Linked DNA regions of Homo sapiens: all the other regions are linked to region 3. Evidence: promoter capture Hi-C in 16 types of primary human blood cells and fetal thymus (Javierre and others, 2016). All regions are on one chromosome and are shown on one strand. The core of a region is centred on a gene start or on the middle of the fragment in contact, and the rest is flanking DNA. Distances in the headings are between cores, read along the strand shown.

Region 1 (3,155 bases), core at 563-3,062, 330 kb after region 3:
ATCGTCTTCTCAGTCACCGACCGACGGAGTTTCTCCAAAGTTCCAGAGACCCTACTTCGGCTCCGGGCTGGGAGGCCGCACCACGACCTACCCGTTATCCTCGTTGGAAACAAGAGCGACTTGGCCCGCTCCCGGGAGGTATCACTGGAGGGTGTGTATCCTGAACAGATTCCATACTTGCGATCTCAGGGGAATGCTCTCCCTTCCAAGTCACCTCTTCTCCCTAAGGCCTTTTTACCATCGCGGACGCACTCACTTGCAATCAGACCCAGGCTAGGGGGACACTCCCAATGCCCCACTCGAGGATCCTGAGAATCCCTTCTTGTCACTTCCCCTCACCTCTCTCCTAGGCCTCCTTCTCCCTCTCCTTCGCACCTCCACAGACCCACCATATGAGCTCAGCCATGTTCTCTCGGTTGCAAGATTCACTAGTACCAATCCCTTGCCACCGCACGCCCAGGCCCTCCCTAGACCCACCCTCGCCCCGGGTCCCGTACAGCCCAGCGGGCGCCTGAGCCGGTGCCTTCCTGCAGAGGGCCGCCACCTGGCCGGGACGCTGAGCTGCAAGCACATCGAGACGTCGGCCGCACTGCACCACAACACGAGGGAGCTCTTCGAGGGCGCGGTGCGCCAGATCCGGCTGCGGCGGGGCCGAAACCACGCCGGAGGCCAGAGGCCCGATCCGGGCAGCCCCGAGGGCCCTGCGCCACCTGCACGCCGCGAGAGCCTCACCAAGAAAGCCAAGAGGTTCCTCGCCAACCTGGTGCCGCGCAACGCCAAGTTCTTCAAGCAGCGCTCCAGGTCGTGTCACGACCTCTCGGTGCTCTGAGCCGCGGTCGCCATGGCCACTGCGGTCGCCATGGTCACCGCGCCCTCCGCTCGCCCCCCCTCGCCCCGCCCCGCCCCCGTCCGGCTTCCTTGGTGGAGGCCGTCTAGGAAACCAAAAACTCCCAGGATGCCCCGGTGTGACCGCCGGGGGCGGCCCGGGGCCGCTCGGCGGCACCTCCACACCCGCCCCAACGCGTTCTCTGGAGCTTTGGGCCTCAGGGCGCCTAGAAGGCGAGGACGCAGACCTGAAGGCGGCCGGTGAGCGGGGCGGGTTCTGCTGGGTCGGGAAGAAAAATAATTCTGCAAGGTATTTTGTTTTTTATTAATTCGCGCTTGGCCACCTCATCTGTAAAGAGATTCTAAAAGCAAGATCTGGAAAAGTGCTTCGTAGACTCCTTGACGGAGTTTGCCTCCTTTGTACGCTGCGTGAACATGCCTCACCTTTAAGAGAGTCTTAAAGGTAAAGACACGAAAACACTTCCTCCAGGGACCTTCCCGAAAACGTTCTGGCTCTCATCTGGTGCGGCATGTGTCCACTTTGCCTTTAAGGAGTTCTTAAAGGCAAGGGCCTGGAAGTGCTGTTCCTGAGATGGATTCTCTTGACTTACCAGTCCACCACGGCACTTCCCCTTTAAGGTTATTAAAGGTAAGGGGTGGACAGACTTTCTGCATTCAGATAATGAGCAGTGGCAACCCCTTTTGGCCAGGGCCAGGGGGGCACCAGCAAGGGGCCACCCTTTCCCTTTTCAATAAATAATTTTTGTACTGCCTCTGTTCACTTTTGACTCTGTTCTTGGAGTCTTTGGGGAAGGAATGGGTGTTGATGGAAACTGCTGTTACCCACCAGAAAACTCAGGCCCAGAGGAGCAAGGAACCTAACTCTCTAAGGAGGCTCTGGAACTGACTTGGCCTGGGGTAGTCCATGTCATAGGGCCACAGGCCCTTACAGATAATCAGGTCCACTTCTTGCGTTTGCCGATGAGAAAACAGGCTTGGAGAGGAACAGGGACCTCCTAGAAGTCATTTGTAAATTAGTGACACAGTGGGACCAAATCTCTAGATTCTGAGCCTCATCTCCTTACCCCCACTCTATCCTGCAGGGAACAGGCTAGAGGCTACACTTAGCTCCCAGCGGTACTCAGCTTTGACTTGGGCTGGTTCAAAGTGGGGCCCATATCCACCAGGGAAGCCCATCAGCTGTGGCGTGATGGGGGTCTGTCTGTGCCTCCTCTGGCAGGGCTCCACAGCCCCAGCTGTCACCTGCAAAGCCCGTGTGAGTACTGAAACTGTCACTGCCTCCCCTGGGGACGCCCACGCCTGCTGCTGCCTGAGCCATGAGTTTGAACAAAGGGAGCAGAGGCAGCAGCTCCCCTCACCACCCCTAGACATACAATACAGCTACCTGAGCACCTGAGGGCCAGCCTCCATTCTACCCCACACAGCCTCCCAGAACTTGATGGAAAGAGGGTTGCAATGCTTCCTGAGTCCTTGTAGCTGGGGAGGAGCCAAGGGGACCATCCCAGCATGGGTACTTATAATAAGATGAATAATGGCCCTATCCTTAGGACTTTATACACTTTATCTGTTAATTCCTTAAAGACTATATAAGGTCCAGCCTGGGAAACATAGTGAGAGCCAGTTTCTACAAAAAAAAATATAAAAATTGGCCAGGCATGTGGCTCACACCTGTAATCCCAGCACTTTGGGAGGCTGAGGCAGGAGGATCATTTCAGTTCAGAAGTTTGAAACCAGCCTGGGCAACATGGCAAAACCCTGTCTTTACAAAAAATTAGCTGGGTGTGGTGTCATTCAGATAGTCCCAGCTACTTGAGAGGCTGAGCTGGGAGGAACCCTTGAGCCAGGAAGTTAAGGCTGCAGTGAGCTGTGATTGTACCACTGCACTGCAGCACGGGCAACAGAGCAAGACCCTGTCAAAAAAAAAAAAAAAAAAAAAAAAAAAAAAAGCAGTGCACCTGTAGTCCTAGCTACTCAGGAAGTGGGAGGATTACTTGAGCCCAGGAGTTCAAGGCTGAAGTGAGCTGCAATCACTGCCTTCCAGCCTGGGTGATAGAACGAGAACTTGTCTCTTTAAAAAAAAAAAAAAAAGGGCCGGGCGCCATGGCTCACACCTGTAATCCCAGCACTTTGGGAGGCCAAGGTGGGTGGATCACAAGGTCAGGAGTTCGAGACCAAGCTGGCCAATATGGTGAAACCCCATCTCTACTAAAAAGTGCAAAAATTAGCTGGGCGTGGTGGCAGGCGCCTGTAATCCCAGCTACTAGGGAGGCTGAGGCAGGAAAATAGCTTGAACCCAGAAGGCAGAGGTT
Region 2 (3,297 bases), core at 787-3,286, 300 kb after region 3:
AACAAGGGCTCTGGACTTGGCAATTAGTGTGTGAATCTAGTCTTTACTGCTTACTGGTTGGGACCTTCAGCAAGTTATATATCCTGCTGGAGCTTCAGTTTCCTCACCTTTAACATGGAGCTAATAATACAAAGGGTAGTTGAGTAGATTAAAAGACATCATCTATGTGATGCCTGTCACTAGTGGTCACTGATTCATTCACTCAAAAAGCATTTATTGAATACCTACTATGTGCTAGACATTGTTTTTGGCACTGAGGATACGGCAGTAAACAAATAGACCCTGCCCTCATGGAACATACATTCTTGTGAGAAGAGCAGGGATAAATGTGATGAATTAATAAAATAGTTTATTAGATAGTGCTAAGTGCTAAGGAGAAAAATTAATTGAGGAAGGGAGATAGACATTGTTGGGGGTGTAATTTTATACACTGGGGTCAGAGAAGGCCCCACCAAGAACCTGAGGATATGAGGGAACAAACCAAGTGGTTCTCAGGAAGAAGAGCATTCCAAGCAAAAGCAGAAGTAAATGCCAAGACTGAGGTGAGTACATGGCTCCCATATTCATGTCTTAGTGAACAAGGTAGTGTGGCTGGAACAGAATGATCAAGGAAGACAGCAATAGAAGAGGAGATCAGACAGGTCATGGGGTGACATCCCATAAAACCCTGTAAGTCATTGTAAAGACTTTGGCTCATACTCTAACTGAAAGGAAGGAAGACTGCAGTGGCGTAAAGGAAGGACGTGGTATTTTAGTACAGTGTAAATACTCATTATTATTATATATTATTATAAATACTCATTATTATTATATATTAAATAAATATTTTTTTATTTATTTTTCTTTTGAGATAGAGTCTTGCTCTGTCACCCAGGCTGGGAGTGCAGTGGCGTGATCTCCACTCACTGCAATCTCCGACTCCCGGGTTCAAACAATTCTGCCTCAGCCTCTAGAGTAGCTGGAACTACAGGCACATGCCACCACACCAGGCTAATTTTTGACCATGTTGGCCAGGCTAGTCTTGAACTCCTGACCTCAGGTGATCCACCTGCCTCAGCCTCCCAAAGTGCTGGGATAACAGGTGTGAGCCACCCTGCCTGGCCAGTGACTTGTTTCTAATGGAGTCTGGCAGCAGTGACAGTGTGTGACTTCCAAGAATAATAAGCAATAAAAGACATTATAAAAATCTAAAATCTAAAATCAAAAATATGTTTTGCTGTCTTTTGGATCACTCATTTTGAAGAAAGCTAGCTGCCATGCTGCAGGACACTCAAGAAGTCTTATAGAGAGGTCCACAGGTAAGGAACTGAGGCCTCCTGCCAACAGCCAGCATGAACTTGCCAGGCATATGAGTGAGCCATCTTGGAGGCAGATCCTCCAGCCACGGTCAAACCTTCAGATGATTACTGTCCTGGCCAACATTTGGACTGCAACCTAATGAGAGATCCTAAGCCAGGTTCATCTAGGTAAGTCACTTTCAAATTCCTGGCCAATATAAAATGATTACAACAATAAATGTTTATTTTATATTTTAAGCTGTGAAATTTTGGGATGATTTCTCATTCAGCAATAGATAACTAATAGGTTTGGGTACTAAAAGTGGAGTGCTGCTGTGACAAACAACTAAAATGTAAGAATGACTTTGAAATTCGGCAAAGGGCAGAAGCTGGAAAGACTTTGAGAAGAGTGTTAGTGAAAGTCTAAAATGCCTGGACGCGACAGTTAGTAGAACCACAGTGGCCTCTTTTTTTTTTTTTTTAAAGACAGGGTCTTGCTATGTTGCCCAGGCTGATTTCAAATTCCTGGCCTCAACTGATCCTAAGTCACTGAGATTATAGGCACAAGCCACCATACCCAGACATGATGGTCTTTGAAGAGGCGGCCAGTGAAGACTTAAGGAAAGTGAGGAAAATGTGTTTTAAAACTGGAAGAGGCCGGGCGCGGTGGCTCACGCCTCTAATCCCAGCACTTTGGGAGGCCGAAGCAGGCGGATCACGAGGTCAGGAGATTGAGACCATCCTGGCTAACACAGTGAAACCCCATCTCTACTAAAAATACAAAAAATTAGCCAGGTCTGGTGGTGGGCACCTGTAGTCCCAGTTACTCGGGAGGCTGAGGCAGGAGAATGGCATGAACCCGGGAGGCGGAGCTTGCAGTGAGCTGAGATCGTGCCACTGCACTCCAGCCTGGGCAACAGAGCAAGACTCCATCTCAAAAAAAAAAAAAAAAAAGAAAGAAAAAAAGAAACTGGAAGAAAAAGGATTCTCGTTATTCAGCAAGTTTAGCAACTATAGTTAGTGTGTAGTAACATGGAAAGTAAAAAATGTAATTAATGAATGGGAAATCTAGCTAAGGAGATTTTCAGGGAGAATGTTGAAGTTAACACCTGGTTTCTTCTTTGCTGCTTATAGTAAAGTGCGAGATAGATAGCTAAGAAAAAAAAATACCACTTAAAAAGAGCCAGGAGGCCGGGCATGGTGGCTCACGCTTGTAATCCAGGCACTTTGGGAGGCCAAGGCGAGCAGATCACAAGGTCAAGAGATCAAGACCATCCTAGCCAACATGGTAAAACCCCGTTTCTACTAAAAATACAAAAATTAGCTGGGCATGGTGGCGCTCACCTGTAGTCCCAACTCTCGGGAGGCTGAGGCGGGAGAATCACTTGAACCCAGGAGGCGGAGGTTGTAGTGAGCCGAGATCTCGCCATCGCACTCCAGCCTGGCGACAGAGCAAGACTCCGTCTCAAAAGAAAAACAAAAAGAGAGCCAGGAATTTTTGGATTTTAAAATTCTCAGCCTCTCCAGACAGTAAATGATGTTAAATTTTTTAAATAGCTTCTGGGCAAGTATCAAATTCAGGGCACTCTCAGGAAAACATGGTATAAAGACAAAGCCAAGATTGAGTGTAACATGCTTTGTTAATATCAGAAGGATCTAAGGTGGTACTCAGGAAACCATTTAGTCTAACAATATGGTTTTTGGGGTTTTTGGTTTTTGGTTTTGGTTTTGGTTTTTTTTGAGACAGAGTCTCACTCTGTCACCCAGGCTGGAGTGCAGTGGCATGATCTTAGCTCACTGCAACCTCCGCCTCCTGGGTCCAAACAATTCTCCTGCCTCGGCCTCCCGAGTAGCTGGGACTACAGGAACGTACCACCATGTCTGGCTAATTTTTGTATTTTTAGTACAGACAGGGTTTCACCATGTTGGCCAGGCTGTTTCAAACTCCTGACCTCATGTGATCTACCCACCTCGGCCTCCCAAAGTGCTGGGATTACAGGTATGAGCCACAGCACCCAGC
Region 3 (3,093 bases), core at 369-2,868:
TCTTCAGCTCTGACAGAGCAACCCCTCTGCTGCTACCCTCACTGGGGGCAGCCATCTGAGTCTTAAGGAGTTGCTTATTTTTTAGGTCCAAACATAAAATTCAACTCCCCTGGGATCACGTATACAGACAGGCCTATAGCACCTTATTATCAGGTACCATCCTAGTGTGGAAGTCCCCTGGCCTGTGTGCTCTGTGGGATGGGAATGTCCCTTGTCATCAATGTGTCCCCAGGAACTAGAACAGTGCCTGGCACACAACAGATGCCGTTAAATGAATAAGTGAATGACTCCTGCAGTTAGGCTCTGGGTGGGGGGAGCTGAGTGTGAGGAGTGGGGAGTACAGGAGAAAGGAAAGTGGGGATTAGTAGAGGAAGTGGTCAGGTGAGTCAATGCTTCACAGTTTTGCCAAGAGCTAAAGTAACTTGTCAAGAACTTCAGAACAAGGAAAGCCTGAGTGGTGGCCCCTTGCTCAGGGCAGCCCCCAGGCAGGCACACATCTATCCAACAAAGCCTGGAGGACAGGGACTGTGGTAAATCACGCAGGGTACCTGGGAGTCTGACCTCACTGTGTGACCACACTGAGGTCCAGAGCCAACAGTCACTTTATGTGGGTTCGCCTCAGTTTCTCCATGAGTCCTACTCTAAAACCCATCTACCTCCGTGAGCCATGTGTGGGAAGACGAGCTTCTGACTGGGATGAGTCTGGGGGAGCAAGCACATGGAGACCCAGTGCTGTCATTCTGGCTGCCGGAAGGCTGCAGGACCACCAGCGCCCTGCGTCTGTGTCAAGGCCACCTGGGCAACGCGGCGAGGGGTGGGGAGTGCAGGCCTCCTTTCACACAGAGACACACAGGCCTGAGGCCTCTCTGGGTAGCACACATAGAGCTATATTTTGCAATTAATAAACAGGTCAGACATTGAGTCAGTAGCCACAAGTAGAACAGGAAGTGGAAAAAGTCTCCCACTTCCCTCCAGGTGTTTGGGGGCTGGGGCGGTCCCCTCCCATTTCCATGACGTCATGGTTACCAAGAGGGGCAAGTAGGGCACCCTTTGAAGCTCTCCCGCAGAAGCCACATCCTCTGGAAAGAAGAGTTTAAAATACTGAGTTAGAGATAGCATCGCCCCAGGCCACGTGCCGAGGGGAGCAGGCTGGGCCGTTACACCACCCCCCAACCGCAGGTGCAGCAAGGCCAACATGCCAGGCTGGGAGGGGCTGCCGGCCCCTCGGTGACTTGCACCGGGCCCGCAAGCAGGCTGGGGAGGTGCTGCTGGCCCCACCGCTGAGCCGCCTCCCTCACCGCACCTCTGCTGCCCCTCCAAACCAGCCAAGATCAGACCTTGATCTCACCTGATTAAGCGCTTGCTTAGTACAGGGCAGACCCTCGAGACTTATGCTCAGGCCAGTGTCTCCTGGGAGGGAAGGAGGTGGGGAGGCCGTATTTGCCCCCACACAGAGCTAGGGCTGATTCTCTGAGGGACCCCCCCCCAATAGCACCTCCCCCCTTACCCTGATGCTTGTCCATTAGGTGATGGCCCTAATGGACGCCTTGATGGACACGTCCGGGACCCAGGGACCCGGAGACCAGGAATCTGCTGGTCTCAGGGAGCCGCAGAACCTGAAACCCAAAAATACCAGGCTTGATCGCCTGCTCTTCGGTAGTGTCGCCATCCACCCGCATGGGGGCAGCAGCGCTCCACCAAAAAGACCTCTTCTCCCTTTGTCTGTTAATTCTGGAGATAGAAAGCCCCCAAAGTTTAGGAAAAGCTCTTTTCCGAGGAAAATAAAAGGGCAGGTGACTTTTATCCCACAAGTCCCTGCCCTGTGCCCGTCACTGCGCTGGGCGCAAGGCCTGTGTCATCCTGTCACATCCCCCCCCAAAGGAGAGGAGGGCCTGGGGCCTGGGCCGGCAGCAGGGGGCGCTGTTCGTCCGGGATCGTCAGACCCGCTCCACCCGGAGCCCTGGAGGAAGTGCCCAGGGAGGGCTGGGGGCCCGGAGGAGGCCTTGGGTTCGGAATTAGGCTGGCTGGAGTCCGGGATCCACCACATCATACACTCGTGCCTTTGGCAGGTCACTAACCGCCCACCGCCTCAGTTTCCCGGTGGGACGAACTCTCTCTCACAGGTAGTTTAAGAACCAGGCTTTCTTTGGCATTGTATACCTGCCATGTGCCAGGCTGTGTCGTGCTCTGGGGATTCAGTCTCTGTGCAAACTATGACTCCATACAGATGAAGTCCAAGAACAGGCAAAACGCATCACAGGTGATAGAAATTAGGGCACTGTTTGCCTCTGGGGTAGAAGGATGGATTGAAAAGGGGCACGAGGAAACCTTCAGGGGTGGTGGAAATGTTCCATATCTTTATCTTGGGTGATGGCTATATATATATCAAATGCATCATTAGTGTATTTTCATGTAATTATGCCTCAAGAAAGTACTGCTCCCATTAAATACACACACACACACACACACACACACACACAGAGTTTCTGTCTTCAAGGAGTTAACAGTCCAGTGAGTAGTGGGTATGAAAGAGATGTGTTAATGGCTGCAATTGCAAGACAGAGGCTTTTGTTACTATATTCTCCTCAGGCAGGAGTCCTCAGGCAGGAGGCAGGAGAACCAGTTGTTTGTCCCTAAGCGTCACTGCCCCTCACTAGCCTTCTCTCCTGGGGCCTTTAATTTTTCTGAGTCCCCATGTGTTATTATTCACATAGAGATAAAAATACCTGCCCACCTATTCTCAGTGTTGTTGAAGGGATTGAAAGCAGTAATGGGTGTGGAATGCTTAGTAAACTGAAATCCCAGTGCAAATATGAAGTGGGAATGCATCAGAATGCCCAGGAAGACGAACCATGACCCGAACAAGATGGGCTGGGCCAGGTCAGATGGCACTGCCATACTGAGAAAAAAGTGGGCTGGCTGCGGCTTCACACAGCCCGGGAGAGCTCAGAACTCCCCAGGCCCTGCCGGTGCGCTGGTGTTTCTCATAGTATGTGGCCACCTCTCCAGTCACTTCGGCCCTAGGAGCTTCTTGTTACACCATGATTTTGTCACTACCTCCGCAGCTTCCCACCTCCTGCTTCCGGCTTCCAG
Region 4 (3,095 bases), core at 351-2,850, 350 kb after region 3:
GGGAGGCCAAGGCAGGCGGGTCACCTGAGGTCAGGAGTTCCAGACCAGCCTGACCAACATGGAGAAACCATCTCCACTAAAAAGACAAAATTAGCCAGGGGTGGTGGCACATGCCTGTAATCCCAGCTACTTGGGAGGCAGGAGAATCGCCTGAACCCGGAGGCAGAGGTTGTGGTGAGCTGAGAACGCGCCACTGCACTCCAGCCTGGGCAATGAGTGAAACTTCATCTCAAAAAAAAAAAAAAAAAAAAAAAAAGAAAGGAAAAAAGAAAGCGGTGGGGGGGAAAGGAAGGGAGAAGGAGGGAGGGATGGGAGGAGAGGGCAGAGGGAGGGAAAAGCAAGCAAGCAAGCAAGCAAATTGCTGTTAAGTGGGCCAGGTGCAGTGGCTCACTCCTGTAATCCCAGCACTTTGGGAGGCCAAGGCAGATCGCTTGAGCCTGGGAGCTCGAGACCAGCCCAGGCAACATAGCAAGACCCTGTCTCTATAAAAAATATATTAAAAAAGAAACTGGGACGGGCGCAGTGGCTCACGCCTGTAATCCCATTACTTTGGAAGGCCAAGGTGGGTGGATCATAAGGTCAGGAGATCAAGACCATCCTGGCCAACATGGTGAAACCCCGTCTCTACTAAAAATACAAAAATTAGCTGGGCATGGTGGTGCTTGCCTATAATCCTAGCTACTTGGGACGCTGAGGCATGAGAATGGCTTGAACCCAGGAGGCGGAGGTTGCAGTGAGCCAAGATTGTGCCACTGCACTCCAGCCTGGCAACAGAGCGAGACTCTGTCTCAAAAGAAAAAAAAAAGAAATTGGTGCTAGGTCTGAGGTACAGTGACTTTCTACTGTGTCACTTCGAGTTTTGAGCAAAGCACAGATTACCAACACCACATTATGTGCCCACTCCGGTTTCTGAGGTTGTCTCTAAAAGTATGGCTCTTAACCATAGTCTCCAGCAAAGCTTACTAAGACTATGCCTTTTATGATTAGTTATTCTACATAATAAATAAGCAGGGAAAGAGGATTCATAAAATGTTGAAAGTTGAAAGTGATGATCGACAACTACTCTTTCTCATTAACCCAATTCCAGGAGTGAGGTGGAAAATATTACCTCTTCTTTTTTATAGGGAGCTTCCAGCATGGCCTCAATCACTATGTCAAAGTCATCAGATGCCATCCTGTCAGATCTGGGGAGAGGATATTAATATGTAAGAATCTGTTTTATATTTTTCCTCCCTTTCCAGCACCACACATTTCTTTCCCACTCCAAGAAAGAGACTTCAGGATATACAGATTTCAGTTCTGTTTCTTGAACTGCAAAGAAACCTTACCAGCTGTCACTTACTCTAGGTTTATTTTTACACCCTATAGATCTGAACTAGTTCGACTTTGTGGCTTGGAACAGTCAAGGATAGTCCGGGCGCAGTGGCTCACACCTGTAATCCTAGCACTCTGGGAGGGCAAGGCAGGCAGATCACCTGAGGTCAGGAGTTTGAGACCAGCCTGGCCAACATGGCGAAACCCCCTCTACCAAAAATATAAAAATTAGCTGGGTGTGGTGGCACACACCTGTAATCCCAGCTACTCAGGAGGCTGAGGCAGGAGAATCACTTGAACCCAAAAGGTGGAGGTTGCAGTGAGCCAAGATCACGCCACTGTACTCCAGCCTGGGCAGCAATGTGTGACCCTGTCTCAAAAACAAAACAAACAAACAAAAAACACAAAAAACAATACATAAAAAAATAGTCAAGGATATAGAAGAAAACTGAGTATCTAGGAAGAAACAAAATACAACACTGATCCTGTTCTATGAAGAGAAAATGATGGTGGCCAAACTACTGTTCACTATAAAATAGACATTAGGTCTCCACTCTACTGTTCAAAATTCTGAATAAATACCTGGTTTAAACTCAAATAATAAAAACAGGCCTGGCTGCTACAGATGTGAGAAAAATATAAAACGAAAAAATAATAAACAAATATAGGCACATTATGTCCAATAAAAAGATAAAGAGGCACGACTAAAAATCAGAAGCAAGTCAAAGCAACACCAAAATGCAGATTTGCCCTAACGTCTTCCTCTCCGCATACCCTGAACACCAATAATTAGGGCCTTATCCCTGAGCATTTTCTAACCAATACCAACTACAGTTTAGGTAACTCAGAAATATGATGATTAAGACAGGCTCGACTAATCCCATCTTGAAACCTTTCTCTCTGGCAGGCAAGGTAAAACGTGCCTCCCCAAGCTTTCACATCTAGAAACTGCCTCTCCCCAGGCTGTCTACCACCAGTTTGTCAAATAAGAAAAACAGAAAATACCAAAGAAAACCAATAGGATAAATTATTCAAATGTTATTGGTCTGGAATTATCAACCCACACATGGATGAATCTCAAAATAATTACACGGAGTGACAGAAACCAGCCCCCCCCACAAAAAGTACACAATGAACAATTCCATTTACATAAAATTCTAAAAAATGCAAACTAGGCCAGGCGCGGTGGCTCATGCCTGTAATCCCAGCACTTTGGGAGGCCGAGGCGGGCAGATCACGAGGTCAACGACGAGGTCAACATATCGAGACCATCTAGGCCAACATGGTGAAACCCCGTCTCTACTAAAAATACAAAAATTAGCTGGACGTGGTGGCACGCGCCTGTAGGCCCAGCTACTCGGGAGGCTGAGGCAGGAGTATCACTTGAACCCAGGAGGCGGAGGTTGCAGTTAGCCAAGATTGTGCCACTGCACTCCAACCTGGAGACAGAGTGAGATTCAGTCTCAAAAAAAAAAAAAAAAAAAAAAAAAAAGCAAACTAATCACTATATCAAAGAAAGCAGAAAGCACATCAATGGTTGCCTAGGGATAGAAGTAAGGGGAAGGGCTGGGAGAAAAAGATTTTAAAAGGGCACAAGAAGGCCGGGCGCGGTGGCTCATGCTTGTAATCCCAGCACTTTGGGAGGCCGAGGCGGGCGGATCACGAGGTCAGGAGATCGAGACCATCCTGGCTAACACAGTGAAACCCTGTCTCTACTAAAAATACAAAATATTAGCCGGGCGTGGTGGCGGGTGCTTGTAGTCCCAGCTACTCGGGAGGCT
Region 5 (3,210 bases), core at 636-3,135, 370 kb after region 3:
TGATATGCAGCAGGAAAGGAGCCCCTCAGCTATACCATGGAAGAGTGATGGCCAGTGTGGATGTGGTTGGTCAAAACTCTGGCCAGGTTGGTGTTATCTTCCTGATTAAGGGGCAGCAGGAAAGCTGGAAGACCCAAATATGCACCAAAATTCAGCTCCTGTAACATGGCCTGGAACGGAGATGAAGAGGAAAAGTTTGAGCTAACAAGCAAACAGCTTTTTTTTTTTTTTTTTTGAGACAAAGTCTCACTCTGTCACCCAGGCTGGAGTGCAGTGGCACAGTCTCCACTCACTGCAGCCTTGACCTTCCCAAGCTCAACTGATCCTCCCTCCTCAGCCTCCTGAGTAGCTGGGACCACAGGCATGCACCACCATGCCTGGCTAATTTTTGTATATTTTATAGAGATGGGGTTTCACTACGCTGCCCAGGCTGGTCTCGAAATCCCGAGCTCCAGTGATCCTACAGCCTCAGCCTCCCAAAGTGCTAGGATTATAGGTGTGCACCACAGCACCCAGCCTAATAGCTTTAATTTCATTCTATCAGTTAATTTACCAAGTTATTGGGGATGGGAGGGGACCACTCTCCCCACCCAGCTTGGTTAGAAAAATCCAGCAGAGAAGTCAAACAGTCTTACCGCCTCGGAGTTCCTGCGAATCTTCTCCACTTTTGAGTCTGGACGAATCCATGGAGAAAGCTTTCCCACAATTAGCGTATTCCAGTCTGCACTCCCCCACCCAAGAAAGACAAATACTGAATAAGGTTCAGCACTTTACTTGTTCAATTTTTAGTTTTGGGAATCAAGAGTAGAAATGAGAGACAAAGGTTTTTTCTACATAGACATGGGATAGCCTGATGCAGAATAGAGAAGCAAGGAGAAAACAAGTTATCTATATCCCAGGGACTAACAAATATATCCAAGTCAGAAAAGGAGGAGAATGAGGGCCCCGATAAAGCAGAAGTTGTTATTGCCTCTAATAATTAAGGGGCATATGGGATGGTCCCTACCCCTTCCTGACAGCAGTAGGTCTGATCGTGTCTGGGGACCGGGCCGATTCTTAGCAGGTTCCTGAATGAACTCCCTCTTGAAACGCGGATGGAAGACAGGCATGCAGAGGAAATCAAACCTACAACCGCGACAGACCCAGAATCATGTAAAGACAGCAGCAGTGCCAGAGAGCCAAGCAACTGGATTTAGGCTATCTTGATTTTGCACAGCCCTTTCAGCTGCCATCAGTTCAGCCTACTAGGCTGCTGAGTTCAGACCACCTTGGGGGATATCAACTCTGCTGTACTGTGCCTCAATTTCTCCCTAAAACACAGCCATGGGACATATGAGTAAGGAGAAAATGATGGATATCCACAAGTAGAATTTTTTTCTCCTCAGGTGTCAGTATGTTTCCAAGACCATCACATCCAGATTTGCCCCAGTTCTGCCCATGCCTCCCCCGTCAAAATTAGCCTCTTCTCTCCCTTGCCCCCTAACACCTCCTCCCACTCCCAGACAATAATCGCGACCTCCAGGGCCCTTTAGAGTTTACCCAACAACTCTCCCAACTTTGGGACTCAGTGACCACAGGCCTCCCACAAGTTATTTTCCTCACGTTACTGGGTCCGAGGCTCCTCCCCTCCAAAGAGTAATAGTCTCTCCCCTCCTCATCCTAGCCGACCCCCTCACCCCTGCTTCTCCGGGATGACTAGTCTGCCCTTCTCCGTCCCCGAGTTCGGACCCCGCATTCCGCTCGTGGAGGTCCGGCCCTCACCCCTGCTTGGCCACAGCCCCTAGTGTGTCAGCTATTTCGGGGACGCAATTCAGGTCCCTCCCGCTGGACACGCGGCTCCCACCAGCACCCCCGACCGCCATCGCCGCCATCTTTCTCCTCGCGCTGTCCACGCCGGGATTCCTTGATACTAGTAGCCAATCACAAAGTCAAACTAGTGCCCCAGAAGGCGGGACGAGTCGCCTTAACAACCAGAGCGTCTGCCACAGCTCCCGAACAGGAGGGATGGGGAGTGGCTTTTCCTGCCAATCCGCGGGCTGCACAGTGGCGTACGGCATGGATCCACCAATCTCAGGGTCTGGTTCCTGACGAACTTCAATCTCCCAGAATGCTTAGTCTATCTGAAGAACGCCGTTGAGAGACTACACCGCCCATGAAACCCTGCAGTATAACCTTGAAGTACCATCACGGAGAGAAACAGTGCCATCTCAGGGCCAGTGGCGCAATGGATAACGCGTCTGACTACGGATCAGAAGATTCCAGGTTCGACTCCTGGCTGGCTCGGTGGGGTTCCTCGCAGCTTCGCTGCGTGAGCATTTTGTAATTTTCCTTTCCTTTCGCAGCTTGATGCTTCTTTATTATCTTCACGCTTTCATTATCAGATCCTGAGTCGGTTGGGTTATGCAGCCATGTAATGTCAGCTTTTCCCGTAACTACCCTCAAAAGTGTTTTTCTTGTGTCATTATTTACGTCCATATGAACACTGAGAAAACTGGGTTAATGGCTGGTGCTATTAAAATGAGCTTTGTCACCTTACTATGTTACATATTAAAATAAACTGCTAACTCAGCTACTACTTCCTAGTGATTCTAGGAAGTAGTGTTTTGTGTTTCAAACACAAAAGGTGTAAATAAACGCCTAAACACACACACACACCTCAAGATAGAGAAAAGGAATTCATTAATTACAGTGGGCAGCAGTCATGAAATTGGCTGGCATGGAGGCCAGAGAGAATCTACATTTTCTCATGTCATTAGCTGCTAGAGATGGAAAGGAAGGAAGCAAGGAAAGACATAGGGAGGTAAATGGGAACTCCAGAAGGCAGGGGGCCCACTGGTGTTGAGGGCTCGGCAGCAAGGATGGAGAGGAGAACACGGTACAAGAGACCCCACGCAGGCGCCGCTGGCAGAACTTAGGGACCGACTGGCAAGGAGTCCTGAGAAAGCAAAGTAGGGGGTGATGCCTAGGATTCTGTCCATGCAGTGAGCAAGAAATGCGGAAAGAGGGTTTGGGAAATCAGGGTTTGGGTTTGGTCATGCTGAATTGAACGTCTAGGGGGCGCTGTGTAATAGAAAGTTGGATGGAGGTCGCTAGAAGAAAAGAACTGAGGCCATGCGACTGAGATCACCATAGCTCGTTGGGGACAGAGCCATAGGAAATACGAAAAGGGTGTGGGGTAGGATAAGTTCTGGGGAACCCTGGGTGCAATGC
Region 6 (3,177 bases), core at 65-2,564, 320 kb before region 3:
TGTGTAATTTATAAAGAAAAGAGGTTTAATTGGCTCATGGTTCTGCAGGTTTTACAGGAAGCATGGTGCTGGCATCTGGTTGGCTTCTCAGAAGGCCCCAGGAAGCTTATAATCATGGTGGAAGGCAAAGGGGGAGCAGGCATGTCACATGGCCAGAGCAGGAGCAAATGAGAGAGAGTGAGGGGGAAGATGCAACACACTTTATTTAAACCAGATCTTGTGAGAACTCACTCACTAAAGCAAAGACAGCACCAAGCCATAAGGGATCCCACCTCCATGATACAAACACCTCCCCCCAGGCCCCACCTCTAGCACTGAGGAATACAATTCAACATGATTTGGATGGGGACAAATATCCAAACTATATCATTCCACTCTTGATCCCTCCTAAGTCTCATCTCCTTCTCACATTGCAAAACACAATCATACCTTCCCAATAGTCCTCCAAAGTTTTAACAAATTCCAGAATTAACTCAAAAGTCCCAAGTCTCATCTGAGACAAGTCAAGCTTTTCCACCAATGAGTCTGTAAAGTCAAAAACAAGTTATTTACTCCCAAGATATAATGTGAGTATACACATTGGGTCAACATTCCCATTTCGAAAGGGAGAAATTGGCCAAAAGAAGGGGCCACAGGTCTCATACAAGTTCAAAACCCAGCAAGGCAGCCATTAAATCTTAAAGCTCCAAGATAATCTCCTTAGACTCCATGTCTCACATCCAGGACACACTGGTTCAAGAGGTGGGCTCCCAAGGCGTTGGGCAACTCCACCTCTGTGGCTTTGCAGGGTGCCACCCCCACAGCTTCTCTCATAGGTTGTTGAGTGTCTGGCTTTTCCAGACACAGGGTGCAAGCTGCCAGTGGATGTACTATTCTGGGATCTGGAAGATGGTGACCCCTTTCCCACAGCTCTACTAGGCAGTGCTTCAGTGAGGATTCTGTGTGGGGCCTCCAACTCCTATTTCCCCTCCACACTGCCCTAGTAGAGGTTATTTGTGGGGGCTCTCCCCATGCAGCAGTCTTCTGCCTTGGCACCCAGGCTTTCTCATACATCCTTTGAATCTAGGTGGAGGCTGCCAAGCCTCTTTCACTCTTACATTGTGTGTGCCTGCAGGCTTAACACCACATGGAAGCTGCCCAGAGTTATGGCTTGCACCCTCCAAAGTGGCAGCCTGAGATGTACCTGGGCCCCTTTGGGTCATAGCCAGAGTGGCCAGGATGTGGGGAGCAGTGTCTTGAGGCTGTGCAGGGCAGCAGAGTCCTGGACCTGGCCCCTGAAACCATTCTCTCCTCCTAGGCCTCAAGGCCTGTGATGGGAGGGGCTGCTGCAAACATCTCTGAAATGCCTTTGAAGCCTTTTCCCCATTGTCTTGGCTATCTGGCTGTCTTTTAGTTATGCAAATATCTCTGGCAAGCAGTTGCTTTGAGGCTTGCTTGAATTCCTTTCCTGAAAAATCTTTTTCTTTCTCTCCCACATGGCTAGGCTACAAATTTTCCAAACTTTTACACTCTGCTTTTTAAAATACAAGTTCTAGCTTTAAGCCATTTCTTTGCTACTGCATCTGAGCATAGGTTATTAGAAGCAGCCAGGTCACCTCTTGAATGCTTCACTGCTTAGAAATTGCTTCCACCAGATATACTAAATTATCACTCTGAAGTTCAAACTTCCACAAATCCCTAGGGCAGGGGCACAATGCAGCCAAGTTTGTTGCTAAGGAATAGCATGGGTGACATTCGCTCCAATTGCCAATAAGTTCCTCATTTCCATCTGAAATTTCATCAGCCTGGCCTTCATTGCCCATATCACTATCAGCATTTTGGTCACAATCATTTAACCAGTCTCTAAGAGGTTCCAAATTTTCGCTCATCTTCCTGTCTTCTGAGCCCTCCAAATTTCTCAGACCTCTGCCTGTTACCTGGTTCCAAAGCTGCTTCCACATTTTCAGGTATCTTTATAGTAATGCCCCACTTCTCAGTACCAATTTGCTTTATTAGGCCTTTCATGCACCACTATAAAGAAATACCTGAAACTTGGTAATTTATTTAAAAAAAAGGTTTAATTGGCTTATGGCTCTTCAGGCTTTACAGGAAGCATGGTGCTGGCATCTGGGGAGGCCTAAGGAAGCTTTCAATCATGACAGAAGGCAAAAGGGGAGCAGGCATGTCACATGGCCAGAACAGACACAAGACAGAGAGAGTGAGGGGGAGGAGCCACACACTTTTAAATGACTAGATCTTGTGAGAACTCACTCACTATTGCAAAGACAGCACCAAGTCATGAGGGATCTGCCCTCATGATCCACATATTTCCCCCCAGGCCCCACCTCCACCATTGGGGATTATAATTCAACATAAGATGTGGGTTGGGACAAATATGCAAATAATATCACAATAATTTCTTTTATAAAAAAGTGAAAAATACTTTTATTAGAGAATAATTTTCAAAGATCTGTTTAAAACTAACTTTTAAAAACAATGAACTATGGGAAACATTCACTAATGCATAAAATAAAATATGTAATCTTTTTCATTTTCAGTTTGTGCAAAGTTATTTTCACACCCTGCTGGTAGCAACACAATATATTGGTACAATCTTTTACACAGTGAATTACTTGGAAAGGGATTTTGAGATTCATTAAACAGTTCATGCCTTTGAACTGTTTGAAACTGAATGAACACCTTTGATCCATTTCTCAGAATTTATATTAAAGATTGATTTTAAGTAGAAAAAACCCTCTAGGCAAGAAAATAGTAAAAATTTCTCAACCAGTTAGAGGAATTTGGATGGCAACTTGACTGAATACTTTACAACTATTTAATGAGTTAATAATACTAAAAACATAGTAATGCTCTTGACATACAGTTAGAGAAAACATAGAGTTCCTATAATAACCATATGCTCACACTAATATCGAATGAATGAAGCACATAGATAAAAACTGGAAGTTTTGATGCAAAACTGAAAGTATGAAATTATTTAGTGTATGTACTTGCAATATTTTAATTTTTATTTTTTTCATGGAATAACTGTGAACTTGTGCCTACAATAAATAACATTTTAAAAATTCTCTTGACTCCAAATGTTGTAGCTAGTGGAAAAACAAACAAACAAGGATCTCAACCCCAGCTCTGTGCCTCAGCTGTTTCTCCTTTCTTCAACTCTGGGGCATCAATTTT

What was found. Contacts are between HindIII fragments. The CHiCAGO score rates a contact against its expected background, and 5 or more counts as called.
Region 1: a contact is called between a fragment that was not itself captured here and the fragment with the promoter of LINC02332 in region 3, in 6 of 17 cell types (total B cells, naive B cells, neutrophils and 3 more). The highest score is 8.3, in total B cells.
Region 2: a contact is called between a fragment that was not itself captured here and the fragment with the promoter of LINC02332 in region 3, in 17 of 17 cell types (M0 macrophages, M2 macrophages, megakaryocytes and 14 more). The highest score is 20.9, in M0 macrophages.
Region 4: a fragment that was not itself captured here is called in contact with the fragment with the promoter of LINC02332 in region 3 in 12 of 17 cell types (total B cells, naive B cells, erythroblasts and 9 more); the score reaches 16.2 in total B cells.
Region 5: the fragment with the promoter of PRMT5 here is called in contact with the fragment with the promoter of LINC02332 in region 3 in 1 of 17 cell types (total B cells); the score reaches 5.5 in total B cells.
Region 6: a fragment that was not itself captured here is called in contact with the fragment with the promoter of LINC02332 in region 3 in 1 of 17 cell types (total B cells); the score reaches 5.3 in total B cells.

Annotation. Positions count from the first base shown.
Region 1 is chr14:22,886,081-22,889,235 of GRCh38, forward strand. It overlaps REM2 (RRAD and GEM like GTPase 2), which reads left to right. Exons shown (of 5, transcript NM_173527.3): 4 at 1-151; 5 at 534-1,598. The coding sequence ends at 829. Among named protein-coding and RNA genes, the nearest start is that of REM2, 4.4 kb to the left of the region's middle. RefSeq lists silencers at 388-457, 698-1,027 and an enhancer at 2,258-2,357. The HindIII fragment of the contact is 5,549 bases long and covers 1-3,155 here.
Region 2 is chr14:22,855,823-22,859,119 of GRCh38, forward strand. No RefSeq gene overlaps it. Among named protein-coding and RNA genes, the nearest start is that of LRP10, 14 kb to the right of the region's middle. The HindIII fragment of the contact is 4,412 bases long and covers 1-3,297 here.
Region 3 is chr14:22,555,444-22,558,536 of GRCh38, forward strand. LINC02332 (long intergenic non-protein coding RNA 2332) reads right to left here and starts at 1,619. Exons shown (of 3, transcript NR_146543.1): 1 at 1,508-1,619; 2 at 1,349-1,410; 3 at 868-1,079. LOC105370399 (a long non-coding RNA gene) reads left to right here and starts at 1,123. Exons shown (of 2, transcript XR_007064066.1): 1 at 1,123-2,123. RefSeq lists enhancers at 1-84, 665-764, 815-1,154, 2,015-2,224 and a silencer at 1,265-1,314. The HindIII fragment of the contact is 9,123 bases long and covers 1-3,093 here.
Region 4 is chr14:22,910,220-22,913,314 of GRCh38, forward strand. It overlaps RBM23 (RNA binding motif protein 23), which reads right to left. Exons shown (of 14, transcript NM_001077351.2): 2 at 1,109-1,184. The coding sequence starts at 1,174. Among named protein-coding and RNA genes, the nearest start is that of RBM23, 7.4 kb to the right of the region's middle. The HindIII fragment of the contact is 1,288 bases long and covers 957-2,244 here.
Region 5 is chr14:22,927,491-22,930,700 of GRCh38, forward strand. PRMT5 (protein arginine methyltransferase 5) reads right to left here and starts at 1,886. Exons shown (of 17, transcript NM_006109.5): 1 at 1,762-1,886; 2 at 1,007-1,125; 3 at 636-721; 4 at 36-170. The coding sequence starts at 1,871. It overlaps PRMT5-DT (PRMT5 divergent transcript), which reads left to right and starts at 2,119. Exons shown (of 3, transcript NR_110002.1): 1 at 2,119-2,262. It overlaps TRR-ACG1-3 (tRNA-Arg (anticodon ACG) 1-3), which reads left to right and starts at 2,211; the gene lies at 2,211-2,283. RefSeq lists an enhancer at 1,730-1,839 and a silencer at 2,250-2,339. The HindIII fragment of the contact is 19,261 bases long and covers 694-3,210 here.
Region 6 is chr14:22,231,369-22,234,545 of GRCh38, forward strand. It overlaps TRA. Among named protein-coding and RNA genes, the nearest start is that of TRD-AS1, 250 kb to the right of the region's middle. The HindIII fragment of the contact is 1,617 bases long and covers 507-2,123 here.